Regions from separate parts of the Homo sapiens genome. Here regions 1, 2, 4 and 5 are each linked to region 3. The links are contacts of gene promoters, found by promoter capture Hi-C in blood cells and fetal thymus (Javierre and others, 2016). All regions are on one chromosome and are shown on one strand. The core of a region is centred on a gene start or on the middle of the fragment in contact, and the rest is flanking DNA. Distances in the headings are between cores, read along the strand shown. Region 1 overlaps PAX6-AS1 (PAX6 antisense RNA 1). Region 2 overlaps PAX6-AS1 (PAX6 antisense RNA 1). Region 3 holds the start of IMMP1L (inner mitochondrial membrane peptidase subunit 1). Region 4 overlaps ELP4 (elongator acetyltransferase complex subunit 4). Region 5 overlaps LOC124902657 (a long non-coding RNA gene).

What was found. Contacts are between HindIII fragments. The CHiCAGO score rates a contact against its expected background, and 5 or more counts as called.
Region 1: a contact is called between a fragment that was not itself captured here and the fragment with the promoter of IMMP1L in region 3, in 1 of 17 cell types (endothelial precursors). The highest score is 5.2, in endothelial precursors.
Region 2: a fragment that was not itself captured here is called in contact with the fragment with the promoter of IMMP1L in region 3 in 1 of 17 cell types (endothelial precursors); the score reaches 5.9 in endothelial precursors.
Region 4: a contact is called between a fragment that was not itself captured here and the fragment with the promoter of IMMP1L in region 3, in 1 of 17 cell types (endothelial precursors). The highest score is 5.1, in endothelial precursors.
Region 5: a fragment that was not itself captured here is called in contact with the fragment with the promoter of IMMP1L in region 3 in 2 of 17 cell types (total CD4 T cells and total CD8 T cells); the score reaches 5.6 in total CD4 T cells.

The regions. Positions count from the first base shown.
Region 1 is chr11:31,840,137-31,842,836 of GRCh38, reverse strand. All of the region lies in intron 1 of PAX6-AS1 (PAX6 antisense RNA 1), which reads right to left. Among named protein-coding and RNA genes, the nearest start is that of PAUPAR, 15 kb to the right of the region's middle. The HindIII fragment of the contact is 1,581 bases long and covers 495-2,075 here.
Region 2 is chr11:31,863,164-31,865,863 of GRCh38, reverse strand. The region is part of intron 1 of PAX6-AS1 (PAX6 antisense RNA 1); the gene reads right to left. Among named protein-coding and RNA genes, the nearest start is that of PAUPAR, 38 kb to the right of the region's middle. The HindIII fragment of the contact is 1,252 bases long and covers 638-1,889 here.
Region 3 is chr11:31,508,149-31,510,900 of GRCh38, reverse strand. IMMP1L (inner mitochondrial membrane peptidase subunit 1) reads left to right here and starts at 1,279. Exons shown (of 6, transcript NM_001304274.2): 1 at 1,279-1,382. ELP4 (elongator acetyltransferase complex subunit 4) reads right to left here and starts at 1,134. Exons shown (of 10, transcript NM_019040.5): 1 at 894-1,134. The coding sequence starts at 1,116. RefSeq lists enhancers at 830-1,119, 252-1,141. The HindIII fragment of the contact is 1,748 bases long and covers 46-1,793 here.
Region 4 is chr11:31,778,077-31,780,776 of GRCh38, reverse strand. All of the region lies in intron 9 of ELP4 (elongator acetyltransferase complex subunit 4), which reads right to left. Among named protein-coding and RNA genes, the nearest start is that of ELP4-AS1, 12 kb to the right of the region's middle. RefSeq lists an enhancer at 339-1,538. The HindIII fragment of the contact is 2,883 bases long and covers 1-2,691 here.
Region 5 is chr11:32,000,051-32,002,750 of GRCh38, reverse strand. It overlaps LOC124902657 (a long non-coding RNA gene), which reads right to left. Exons shown (of 2, transcript XR_007062644.1): 2 at 346-1,545. Among named protein-coding and RNA genes, the nearest start is that of LINC03031, 40 kb to the left of the region's middle. The HindIII fragment of the contact is 6,759 bases long and covers 1-2,700 here.

The DNA of each region.
Region 1 (2,700 bases), core at 36-2,535, 330 kb before region 3:
AGGTCAGGAAGAACGATATGGGATTTTGTTCTAAACTAACGAGAAGCCACTGAGAGAGTTTTAAGTAAATTATGTAACTGTGTTGCAGTCTATTCCTCTTAATTTGTATATTTGCTAGAGCTCTGAGTCAGTACAGTACTGTTCAAGTTCGGGAGTGGGTCAAATTTCCTAATTGTTGGCTGGGCGTGGTGGCTCATGCCTGTAATCCCAGCACTTTGGGAGGCCGAGGCAGGCGGATCACAAGGTCAGGAGTTCGAGACCAGCATAGCTCATATGGTGAAACGCCTTCTCTACTAAAAATACAAAATTAGCTGGGTGTGGTGGTGTATGCCTGTAGTCCCAGCTGCTCGGGAGGCTGAGGCAGGAGAATCGCTTGAACCTGGGAGGCGGAGGTTGAAGTGAGCCGAGATGGTGCCACTGCACTCCAGCTTGGGTGACAGCGAGACTCCGTCTCAAAAAAAAGAAAAAAATTTTTTCCTAATTGTTAGTAAGCTTTCATAAGAAACATGTCATTTATTTTCTACTCTGACTTCGTCTCTGCTTTCAGTTCTTATTTTAGAGGTGGGGAGGGGAGGAGACATTTAACTAATTGTACCGGGATCTAATACCCCAGGAAACAAAGTAACCCCATCATTGATATAAGTCATAGTTCAAGTTGAACCTTTGTTATCCAAGGACTCTTTTTGAAGGGGAAAAATGGCAACAGAAGGCTTCTCATGGGCATTTTTGCTGGTGCAGGGAACCTCCCTTCTGTTGCCATTTTTCCCCCTCAAAAAGAGCCCTTCGATAACAAAGATTCAACCTGCTGCTTATCCCAAAAGCTCTTTTACCTTCAGGCAATCAGTAGAGTAGAAATCTCCTTTATTGACTGAGCTATATTGTAGGTGAGAGGCAGTCTGAGCAAGTGAAGATATTTACCACTTGACCCCCCGGAACTTGAACAACCTTCCCCTTTGAGGGTGTTCTCCCCACTGTCAGAGTCCTGGTGGGACGCAGAGCCCTATCTCCCACTATAGATGCATAAGAATTAGGAACATAACTTAGATTCAGCTATCTTGAATCTTAAGTAGATAATGAAAAAACACAAGGGGTAGAATTCTTCCTGGTGGGGATGGAGTACTGTCAATCCAGTCCAGGGACATTGGTGGTAGCAGTTTCAGCAGAGGTGTCCAGAAACCAGACAAGTCCTATGGCACGATTTAGGCTACAGTTCTGCTGCCAGCCCCGCTTGGCTGCTCCATATTCGTTGATACTAATTCTCTGTGGGTGATCCAGTATCTTCTCAATAGGTTCTTTATCTACAGGTCTTTTTCTGGTATTGGTGACCAGGAATCCTAGTTATAATAATAACTTACATTGACATAGCCCTCATTATTTGTCACACACTATCCCACACACTTTGCAATAAATACTATTGCCTTTAGTGCTAGTAAAATAGAGAAATAGGTTTCTCTGCTGACAGAGGGAAGCCATGTGACAGAGTAATTTACTTTAATAAGAAAAAACTAGGCTGAGTGCAGTGGCTCACACCTGTAATCCCAGCACTTTGGAAGGCTGAGGCAGAAGGATTGCTTGAGCTCATGAGTTCGAGACCAGCCTGGGCAACATGATGAAACCTCATCTTCACAAAAAATACAGAAAATTAGCCAGGCATGGTGGTGCACACCTGTAGTCCCAGCTACTTGGGAGGTTGAGGTGGCAGGAAGGCTTGAGCCGGGGACGCAGAGGTTGCAATGAGCTGAGATCACACCACTGCAGTCAAGCCTAAGCAATAGAGGCAGACCTTGTCAAAGAAAGAAAGAAAGGAAAGAAAGAAAGAAAGAAAGAAAGAAAGAAAGAAAGAAAGAAAGAAAGGAAAGAAAGAAGAAAGAAAAAACTAAAGTGTGGACTGAAGCCTTTTATCAGCCTAGAGATTAAAAATACTTTTTTCTCTAATAGTAAGAAATTGGAAGTAACCTGAAATGTCTGAGAATGGGAAAATAAGTGGGCAAATTATAATGCCACCACTCAAGGGACTAATATGCAGCCATTTAAAATAATAATTAGCAAAACTGAAATGTAAAATAAGAAAAGCTTGTAGTTACAGTGGAGTAAAAATATGAAAGCAAATTGCCAAGAAGTCGAAGGATTACATAAACATTCAGGGCTGTTTTGTTAGGGTGGTGATTATAGGTGAAGATACCCCTCTATTTCTAAACTCCCTCCAATGTTGTTATATTGTATTTCTAATTTTAAAAGGAAACACACTTTCCCTCACTCTATATTTATCCCAGTGCTCCAGGATGACTCTTCTCCAAGTGTGGGAAAATCCCTATAATCATCCCCTTAGCAACCATTTAAGACAATGAACTTCAGGGCCACTTCTAAGTCTATACGAACAGGGTGGATTTTGACCCCAATATTCAACTGAAGTTTTCAGTACCAAAACCCCGGATATACCAAAATTTCAATGCCCATCACCTTCTGTTCTGAGGTTAAAACCCTAATCCAGATGTACATATTTGGGAATGTGAACCACCACTTCTCTGACCCAATTATTTTTGATGAACTACAGTTTTCTGCTTCACACAAGGAGCTGGGAGATCCACTTCAGTTCATGAAAAGTTGTAGAAACAGAACATCACTCCTTTGATTCACACTTTTACCTTCCATGCAGGCTCATTCCCAGAGGTCTTCTATACTCACAACTTGCAATGTTCT
Region 2 (2,700 bases), core at 14-2,513, 350 kb before region 3:
GAGGGCACTGCCCATCTTCGCCTGTTGCCTTCTCTTCTCGCCCCCTGCCACCCCTATCTGACTGGTGGCCTCAGTTTCCCCACACACCCTGCTGGCTCCTGTCCTCAATGCTCATGCTCTGGGTCCCCACCCTGTGGCGTGCTCCCCTTAGCCTCACCTAGTTACATCCACCTAGTTACATCCTTCCAGGCCCACCCTGAGCCACCAAAACAGCCCCTTGCTGATCTTCCAGCTCCATGCCTGAGCCCCAGGGCTTACTGCCTCACAGCTGCCAGAATGGTTTCTTTTTAAACACACAAATTATATCATGTCACTCCTGCCCCAAGACCCTCCACAATAGCCTGCATCCTTAGAATAAACCCTGAAATTCCTTCCCCAGCCTCCAGGCCCTAGCTATTCTCCAGTCCCTTCTCCACCACTGTCCCCTCCCTCACCACTCTGCAGCCATGCTGGCCTCCTCACTATCTAGAGGGCACACTGAGCCTGCAAATGCTTTCCCTAGCTACCCAACACCTGCCATTTTCTCCTGGTTAGGGTCAAGCCTCAGACTCCCTCATCTCTTCAGAGAGGCCTTTTGGGACCACCATCTGACCCCACTCAGCTCCACTCACTTCCACCATTTTATCTTATCAAAGCTTTTTTGTAGCTCTTATCCATATCAGAAAATATCTGATATATGGATTGATTATCTGTGATTAACTATACACACACGCACACATATGCATGAGACAGGGTCTCCCTCTGTTGCCCAGGCTAGAGTTTAGTGGCACCATCACAGCTCACTGCAGCCTGGAACTCCTATCCTGAGCTCAAGTGATCCTCCCTCTTCAGCTTCCCAAGTAGTAGGACTACAGACACACACCACCATGCCCAGCTAATTTTTAAATTTTTTGTAGGGACAGGGTCTTGCTATGGTGCCCAGGCTGGTCTCCAACTCTTGGCCTCAAGCAATCCTCCCACCTCCCAAAAGTGCTGGGATTACAGATGTGAGCCACCCCAACTGGCCAACAATATACAATAACAGCAATCAATTATTACTATTATTGATTAACAAATTCAATATTTCTATCCAGTAATAGTATTCTGAGATCGGTCTCCCTCCACCAGAATGGAAGCCCCTTGAGGAGAGGGACTCCTTCCTGGCCATCTTTGCATCCCCAACACCAACAACGGCTCATAAGTGTTGATTGACTTCCTACTTGAAGAAGCTCCTCCTGACTGTCTGCACCCTCTCCAGCGTCTCCATCTTTGGAGTCCCTGAAGTGCTGATTTGGCACTACTCCCACATCGCTTACAGTGGAACTTTGCGTTCAGATGCGTCCTGGCTCCCAGGTACATTTTAAGTTTCTCCATCTTCAGTGTCTCTCTGACCCTGCCCCACCCCCACATAGTTCCTAGCACAGGGCCCTTGCACAATGTAGATACTCAAAAAAAATGTTATTATTTATCTGGTTGGCTGGTTGGCACTTTTATCCTCTCTTCAGTCCCCATCTCACTCCTTTGGGCTGAAAGTTTATCCCTGATTGTTTTCCTCCTGTGGTTAGTGTCACAATTACTCCCTCTTATTGCTTTGATTGTGATATGAACTTCACTCTCTGTGAAAGGATGCTCACAAGGGTTCACTTAGGAAGTGAGTTTCCTAATTTCATGTCCAATGTAAACAGAGGCAAATATGTAATTATCAAGCATTATTACCACTTGTAATTACCCCGACTTCTCAGTCAACATTGTGAACTAAAGAAATGAGCGTGAAGAATGGAGTGTTTAAAATTTGCCCTCTTGTCCCTTAAAATATTTACTTTTCAATCATGTCTCCAAATAGTTTAATTATGTCTGGTTATCTAATTAGTGCATGTGTGTGGTATTTACAGGCCATCCAGAGTAAAGCTTTGTAACTTTCCAAATGTCTGCATTTCACTGAGTGTCCCATCAAATATTTCCAAGTATTCATTTCCAAGGCGCTGTTCCTAGACTGCTAAACACCACCATCAACAGCATCTCTGTAGCAGTTAAGAATCTTCCTGAGTTAATTCACTGAAGTATTTCCCAGGAGTCCCGCATATTGAAGGGCTCCACTTATAGACCAGAGTTTTTTTTTCAGTGTGGCCCAAGGGCTGCCATCAGAATGACGTGGAATACTTTTCAAATGCTGATTCTCTGGGTCAGGCCAGAATTGTCAAATTCACATCCCAAAGGAGAGAGCTAAGTAATCTGCATTTTAACAAACTCCCTGGGTCAGTCTCATTCACACTGAAATGTCACTGAGAAAGCCACTTTCCCGCCCTATCCTGGACCTGTGTCTTGCTTCCATGTCTGCTGTGGAATAAGCAAAAGGAATGTCAATGCAAACAAAAGCACAGCTTCCTGTAGAACACTACAAATCTGGTCTCTTGGAATTCTGAAATATGTCTGCCAGAGAATCAACAATGATACCTGTGCTAGTTAGAATACCAGTTAGTTGGCTCCTACAAAAGCCAAAGTAACAGTGGCAGGCTGGGCTCAGTGACTCACACCATTAATCCCAGCACTTTGGGAGGCTGAGGCGGGTGGATCGCTTGAGTCCAGGAGTTTGAGACCAGCCTGGGAAACATGCCGAAACTTCATCTCTACAAAAAAATACAAAAATTAGCCGGGCTTGGTGGTGCACACCTGTAGTCCAGCTACTCATGAGGCTGAGGTGGTAGGATTGCTTGATCCTGG
Region 3 (2,752 bases), core at 30-2,529:
GACGGGGTTTTAATGAAACAGCATTCAGAAATTAATCTAGAAGCTTTATTAACACAGCAAATCTGTCCTACCAACTTAATCTGGTCATTCCTTTGAATATAACAGTTATGAAACAAGCATATTCTTCAGCAGGCTTCTCATAAAAAATTCCAGAGATTTTAAAGGAAAGCCTAAGAACTAGACTTTTCTCGTTAAAATGTGAGTTAAATTTAAAGATGTCGTATGGAATGTAGCAGCAATCAATACTGGGAAGCAAAATGTATATAGAAAAAATAAAAAATATATACACAGATTTAACGCAGACACTATCTAAATATCAACGACAGGCTCAAAATACTTTATAAGGATTATGTGTCAACATAAGCCTTTAACATTCGCTCTCTTAAAGCCAAAATGTTTTAAGATTTAGAACCAGAGAACAGGCAGTCTGACGGTCAAAGAGGGGAAATCATTTTTTTCCAGCATCTTCTAATGAAGTCTGTCTCTCACAATTATAAAAACTTTTGCAGGCTGGTCTAAACCGTGAGCTGCCTGGAGAAAGCAGAAGGGAGGTATCCTGAATGAAAGCCAAACCATCTCCATAAATTAATGTCTTCCCTTGACTAGAAAGCATTTCAGGGTAAAAAGCATGTACGAATTCCTCCGTAATATGAAAAGGGGTTGGAGGGCAGGGAATGAAATAGAGAGCGAGGGCACTAAAACATGTTTAGTTAACAGCGCTCAGAAGTCTCCACACAACCCGTATTCCCCTCCATCTCAATCAGACCAGGCTATTCTCTCCTCCTCCGAAGGTTTAGGGGTCAGAAAGAGATGTGGGGTCAAAGTGGCTTCCCCGACAGGTCCCCTCCCTAAGTTTCCCCTCGGCTGAGCCCAGATCTCCGCTCTGAACCGACCTAAGAGCTGGTCTAGGGCTGGGAGCCCGGTTGATACCAGCAGCTGTCCATTCCGCACCGACGGTCGCGTGCCCGCAATGGACACCAGTCGAGGGCCGCTGTCGTTGGTCACGCTGGCTCTAGGACCCCTCCTCTGGAAACTGGTGACGTTGCTCTTGCTGGCTGTCGCCACTGCAGACCCAGTACTCGCGGCAACACTACCGCAGGTTGCCACTGCCGCCATCTTAGAGCCTCCAGTGTTAACCCAATAGGAACTCTGGGAACGCAAACACCCGTCCTATCAGAACCAGTGCCAAACTCCCGCCTCCTCGCCCCAACCGCGGCTCTCGTAACCAATAGGACTGAGACGTCAGTCCCGAGCCAACCAATCGGAAGGCGTATTGCTGAAAAGTGCGCCCTACGAAAGGACGGTCGACTTCGGCGGGGCCCAGGTGAGAAAGGCCCACCTGTGTCCTGGTTGAGGGTCTCCAGGGTTCTTTGGGGCCCGAGGTAGGTAATATCACGTAACGTTCTTCTCCTTTTGAGTGCCTTCATTCACATTGAGTTAAAGAAAAGGTTGGTGAAACAATAAACCCTTAGGGCTTATCAAGCAATTGCTAGCACCTTTCTCCGCTGTGTGTGAGGATAGACTTTTTTCCTGCTCATTTATCTTCTGATTTCTGATAGAAAATTCACTCCGCCTTCCCCACGATGTCTTTTTCTTAATTTTGTGTTATATGGAAAGGATGGGATCTCTTACCTTAATGAGTTGGTTGCTGAGCGTCTGGGCTTAGTTCGTTAGTGCCTAGTGGTAGGTGGTTTGGAATTAAACCTTAGAGCGAAAACTCTTGAACTTTGAGGCTATCTGGTTTTCCTGTGTCTGACAAACTATAGCTCTCTGACAAGTTCCGATAAGAAGCTTTTGTTAATTTTAATTAGTGTTTCTGGAAGTCTTGGATGTCTTTCCTAAGCGGTGTAAATGACAAGTGTTACTCTGACAACCTTGTTCACACATTTAATTGTCGTTTGCTGTTAAAGCAGCTGCAAATAACAGAAAATACTTAGGGTTTCTTTCCCCCAAAAAACTGCTAGGAAGAATTAGAAGTATACCTACTTTATTTTATGAACCCTGAATCGAGAGTTTATTACTAAAATACCAATTTTATGTGTGGAAAAAACATGTATTTTGAGTTGTATTTTTGTATTTAATTTTTTTTTCAAAACTGAGCAGGGACAGTGGGTAACTGATGTTTAAAGGCAATCATGATTGACAAATGTCTAAATTGAAAAGGACTCCCAAATCATTACCGCACTACTGAGTTATTGACTTTGACAGTGATCTGTGATACCTTTTAATTAGAGCCAAACCTCATTGAAATTCTTGCCATCGAATTGTTTTAAATCTCACTGACCTGTTGAAATTTTTGGGCTGATTCTGTTTGATAAATTGAAATTAGTATTGCTAAATAGTGACTGGAGTTTTTCATTTGGGGAGGATTTTTGTTTGTTTGCTTGTTTTTTAGAATCATGTTTAGGAAAAAACCCTGTTTCACAATATATCAACTGGAAAGCTTTGATCAAGGTTGCTTTCATATTGAATCTTTAAGTTACTCAATAAATAGCTGTTGAGTGATTACTGTCTGTTTGGACTTAATCTTGTCATTTTAGACCTATGGTAATAAAAATGGTCTCACCTGGAGGAGATAAAATTAACACATAGAAAACAACATAGTACTTAAAATGAACACATTAAATAGCATGTGCTAATTTTATCCTGTAGTAAATAAGCACTAGGAAGACCAAAAGAAAAAGTGACAAAGCAGTCCAATATCAGATAGAAACGTCTTGAATTTTTTTTTTCTTCAACTTTTGTTTTAGGT
Region 4 (2,700 bases), core at 1-2,500, 270 kb before region 3:
ATTTCAGGAGCCTACCTATTTGCTTGTGGACTGGCTCAGCATTTCTTGGCCTCTGCTTTTCTAGGCAATGAATGTGGTGAGCCAGTTGGCCGAAAGCCCTTCAGAGAAAAAGTAGCTAAATGTGACATGTGACATGCTTGGAAATCTTTCAGGTTGAATGGCTTTGAAGTAAAGTCAAATATCATTCGTGTGAGACTTCTGAGCATAAAAATTTAGGGGTAATATGATTAACTGCTTTTAACCAAATGCTACATTGTAAAGCTAGTTGTATATTCATGCCCTTTGAAAATGCCCAAGGATGGCTCTTGGAAATATGTGAATCTATGTGTGATTTTGCCTGCTTTTGTTGATTATTACTTGAATGAGCTTACTATGCAATCTAAATTCTCAAGCAGTGGGTTTTGTTTTCTTTCTTTCTGAGCCTCCCCCTGTGCGCCATGTCAGTGCGATGTGAAACAGCGAGGAAGAACGAGAGATCAGGTTCCAGGCATGCCAGGTGTGTCAGGGATTTTTCCTTTGAGGCTTCCAAAGCATTTACACACTTGACATGTAAATGTTCAGATGCTGCTGTATCCCAGATCTGTCTTCTGAAAAAAAATGCTGCAAGATACTCTGCATAGCATGGTGACCTCCTTTAGACTTAAAACTACAGGGCTGTAGGGTATATAAACTTTTAGACATTGAGGTTTCACTGAGTAATGGTTTAAAGAAAAATCAGACCACAAAAAAATCATATTATTCTCAACCTTGAAAACCAAATCAAGGTATTCATATTTCTCATTTTATACCTGGGGTTCTGAAGCAAGGGCCAAAACCAAAACCATATCTTACTTCTTGAGCTGAAATTTTTCCACTTGATTTTCTTTTCTCAGATTCTGGGAGGAAGAGACTGTGTGATGCAGGAGATGGATAGCTGGCTGGCTGGCTGGCTGCCTACTTTTTCCATTAATGCCTTGTCTAAAACAATGATTTCTGTGTAGGCAAACGGATCTGGGAAAGGTGTGACAACTTCCACGGTTCCTGCACAGGCCAGGGTGATTTGCTGTAATCCCACTGGATCAACGCTGCAAGGAGGGAAACAGTGAGGCTAGCAAAACACTCTGGCAGATTATGGAGACTCCTGCCAAAAGGCACCCTTAGGCCCATGGGAAGCCCAGGGTCATAATAAGGCAGCAGCAGCAGAAGTGATTTGCTCTGAGGCTCCAAGAGGTACCGAGGAGAGCTGGACTTTGAGATTCTTTCCCCTCTACTTGCCTCTCCGTCTCTTTGTTGGGCTTAGCCACTGTCTATATTTTGTTCCTTCTGAGTCAGCAGCTAAATTGATCCTATAGACACATAAGATTGGAATTCCTGGCTCAACAGTTCCCTTCCTAATTCCGTTTCTCCCAGCCTGCCAGGCCTGTGCTCAGTGCTCACAGTTCCCAGACAGAAGGGGCAAGATAATGAATCTCGATTACACCTGGATTTGAGACAAATTGCAGGTAAATACTCATTAAAATAAGTTTAATCAGTTTATATTTTTCACATTTTGCCAAGACCAAACCATCAGGCACTGTTTGTTTTCTGAAAACAACTGATGTAGTATACTTTGACCCTTAGCAGATGACTAAAGATTTATTTTAAACCTTTTAAAAATTTCTGACATTTCCTGAAAAGTCACAATTTGTATTGCTCAGGATCACAGAAATAAGCATTAACATTTCAGAATACTCCTAATAGATTTTTTCATTTTTCTTTAAAACATTGCCAATTTAAATGAAAACTTGCCAGGCACGGGGTAGCTCACACCTGTAATCCCCACACTCTGGGAGGCCGAAGTGGGAGCCTGGGAGTTCAAGACCAGCCTGGACAATAAAATACAGTGAGACCTCATCTCTACAAAAAAACCTTTAAAACTTTAGTAACTGTCTCAAAAAACAAACAAACAAAAACAAAAAACAACAACTTATAAATACCTTAGAACACACAGGTTCTACATTGGTCCCTTAACAGAGGTGGCCAGGACTTGTGGGCACTGGACACAGAGGCAGAGAGTGACAGTTTGATACCTGCCTCTGTCATTCACTCTCCACGTAACCTCAGAAAAGTCAATTCAGCTGGTTAAGCCTCAGTGTCCTCATCTATCATGGGGGAATGATTCTTCCCTCATAAGACTCTCGTCAGAATAAAATGAGATGTGTAAGTGTTTTGTGAACTATCAAGTTCTACACTAATTTATTTATCTCTTCTTGCTTCAAAAATGGATCTGAGGTGGTTCATAAAAGTACATATGGTATAACAAGACAAAAACAAGTGAGTTTATTAGGTCAAGGAAATCAATCTACAAATATAACGAACAAATATAAACAATAGCAACAGCACATCAGACTTAGCCACCAGGTCTCAGTCTGCCTGGAATCTGAGTATTTAGTATAATTACTCTCTACTGCGGCTCCTTACAGACATATAAAGCAAAGTGCAACTGCAGTCCCTGCTTCTGAGGTTTTAAAAGTCTAAATACTTTCCCTCATACTGAGTAAGGTAGGAGTGAAAGTGGGGTATGTAAGATGCCTGGCTTCTGGGCCAGTGTATACATGCATGGCTGTATTAAGGAGGCAATTTAGGGTGCATTTTATTTTTAAAACCTGTATTTTGCACATGTCTTCACTGCTGGCAAAATAACTAATAAAGGAAATGTCAGAAGATGAAGCTTTCCCACTC
Region 5 (2,700 bases), core at 29-2,528, 490 kb before region 3:
ACGCTGGATAGATGATTTTCTGCATTGCTTTTTTTACCTAATATTGTGATGTGAGCATTTTTCTCCCTGTATTGTTGAATAGCTTTTAAAATCATGATTCTTAGTGGTTATGTAATTTCATGAGATGGTTGGAAGATGACTTATTTAAATACTTCCTGGTTGTTGGAAATTTAGATTGAGTTAGAATAACTTTTCAATGAAAGAGGAAAAAAATGCTAGCTATTCATGAGGCAACAATGATTTCTCACCCTATATGAGCAACCAGTAATAAACGTCAGCAACACCATCTAGCATGTGATGAAAGTTCCAGAAATGGCAGGAAATGGATGGGGAACTCGTAAAGGATGAAGTGAGTTATTAGTGTTTATTATTTATATGGTACAGTAAATATATACAGCACAGGACTAAGCATTTGCTTGTCAGTGACATACAACCAGTCCATGGTGCCACAGAGCTTGGACAATGCTGAAATCCACGAATCAAGGCAGCATCTTTAGAGGACATGGCGAGTCAGCCATTCCCGTTGGAAGGGGCCCTACCGAACCTTCTCAACACCAGTACATTTCCTTTGCCTTGGAATGACTTTCACTTTCAAGGACAACACCTCTAGTCCCCTGACAACCTCAGGGTGTGTGCATGCGTGTGTGTGTGCACGCAGGCACGGAAAGGAGGAGGGAGCAGAGTGAGGTAAGTACGGATTTCCTTCCTATCTTCCATAGTTTTGCCTCTTGGGATGGCAGCTTTCAATGGCCACGTCCTGATCCTTGTGAATCTGAGAATCCCAACAGACCAGAAAGCCTCTCCTGCTCGTGCACGTGAGACAGGGATTCTTACCTCTAATTTACAGTTAAGGAAATAGAGTCAAAGAGCAGTACAACAACTTGATCAGGATTTCTCTTTTCAAATGACAAACCAGGACTCCAGCTCAACACCCTAAGTCCCACGTCAGTGATGACACCCCAGCTGACTCCCTAGGACAGCATTTTTGAGTGTCTGTTTTGAGTGTCTTTCAGGCTCTGTTCCCTTTTCCCGTTTACACTTATTTGGAAGTAAAATCTCTTTGATAAAGTAGGGAGAGGGAATTTAAGAAAGAAACTCTCTCTCATTCTTAGACCTATAAATGGGGCTTTCCTCAGGCTCCCCAGCCATCTCAGTCTCCCATCCCTGCTTTATTTTTTCTCTAAAGCACACCTCCCATCTAACACGGTATAGATTTTACTTCAAAACCAAAATATCTCCCCATTAGAAATAAGCTCCCCTAGAAGCAAGTCCTTTCAAAGTAGCGCAGAGACTGTAGAATGTAGTAGTAATAGCCACCATTTTTTGAGTACCTGCTAGGTGTCAACAACTTTCCAAACATTAATTCTAATTCTTGGAATATTCTGGTGACAGGTAAGTATTCTTCCTGCACTTTTACAGGTGAAGAAAACAAAAGCTCAGAAGGGTGGTAGGAGCACTTCACGGTCACAGAGCTCAGATGGCGGCAGAGATGGGATGTGGTCCAAGTCAGCCCGAGTCCAAAGCCGTTCCCCTCATCTTGCTTGGCTTTTAGAGAGACAATTGAGGAGGGACAATTGGGTCACTTTGGCATCCAACTGGATATTTCCTGCCTAGTGTCTAAGTGATGGGGTGGGGATGAGGAGTAAGTCCGGGGTTCCAGGACTTCTAGGAAGTGCTTCTAATCCCGACAGGCTGCTCAGACATCATTTTGTCCCAACTGGCAAATCCTTTAGTTTCCTTTTTTTTTTTGAAATGCCTTGGCTCACTGAAACCTCCGCCTCCCGGGTTCAACCAGTTCCCCTGCCTCAGCCTCCCAAGTAGCTGGGATTACAGGTGCCTGCCACCACACCCGGCTAATTTTTTGTATTTTTAGTAGAGACAGAGTTTCATCATGTTGGCCAAGCTGGTCTTGAACTCCTGACGTCTTGATCAGCCCGCTTTGGCCTCCCAAAGCACTGGGATTACAGGCGTGAGCCACTGTGCCTGGCCTAGGTTCCTTCTTTCCCTGAAACAGCTCCTTACCCTTTGAAGGCATAGACTTGGACTCTCTCAAAGTTGCTTATGAGTGGGCTTATCTGATTCTGTTCTGGGGGCCAAGAGCCAAAGATCCCTTGGAACATTGGGCAACATCTAAGTCAAATTCACCCGCTTCTACACAGCCTCTCGGCTAGAACCAAGCCTGTGATACAAACATATTCCAAAACAGAGACATGGAGAGTCTTTGCAAAACAGCCTAGAGAATCTCAGCTTGCATCGTTTCTAGCAGAGGCACTGTGTGTGCCCCGCATGCATTAACCCAGAGACAGGCAGTTAAGTGCCCCTTGGGGAACCGGATCCAGAACCATAGCTTTATTCTTTGCCAGCTCCTTTAGCTGTGTAGATAAATGTTTTCAATCCTCCCCCAAACCACCACCATCTTTTAAAATAGCACTTGAGGCTTGGCGCAGTGGTTCACGCCTGTAATCCCAGCACTTCGGGAGGCCGAGGCAGGCAGATCACAAGGTCAGGAGATCAAGACCAGCCTGGCCAACATGAAGAAATGCTGTCTCTACCAAAAACACAAAAATTAGTGCACGCCTGTAGTCCCAGCTACTCAGGAGGCTGAGGCAGGAGAATCGTTTGAACTTGGGAGGCGGAGGTTGCAGTGAGCCGAGATTGCATCACTGCACTCCAGTCTGGTCAACAGAGTGAAACTCCGTC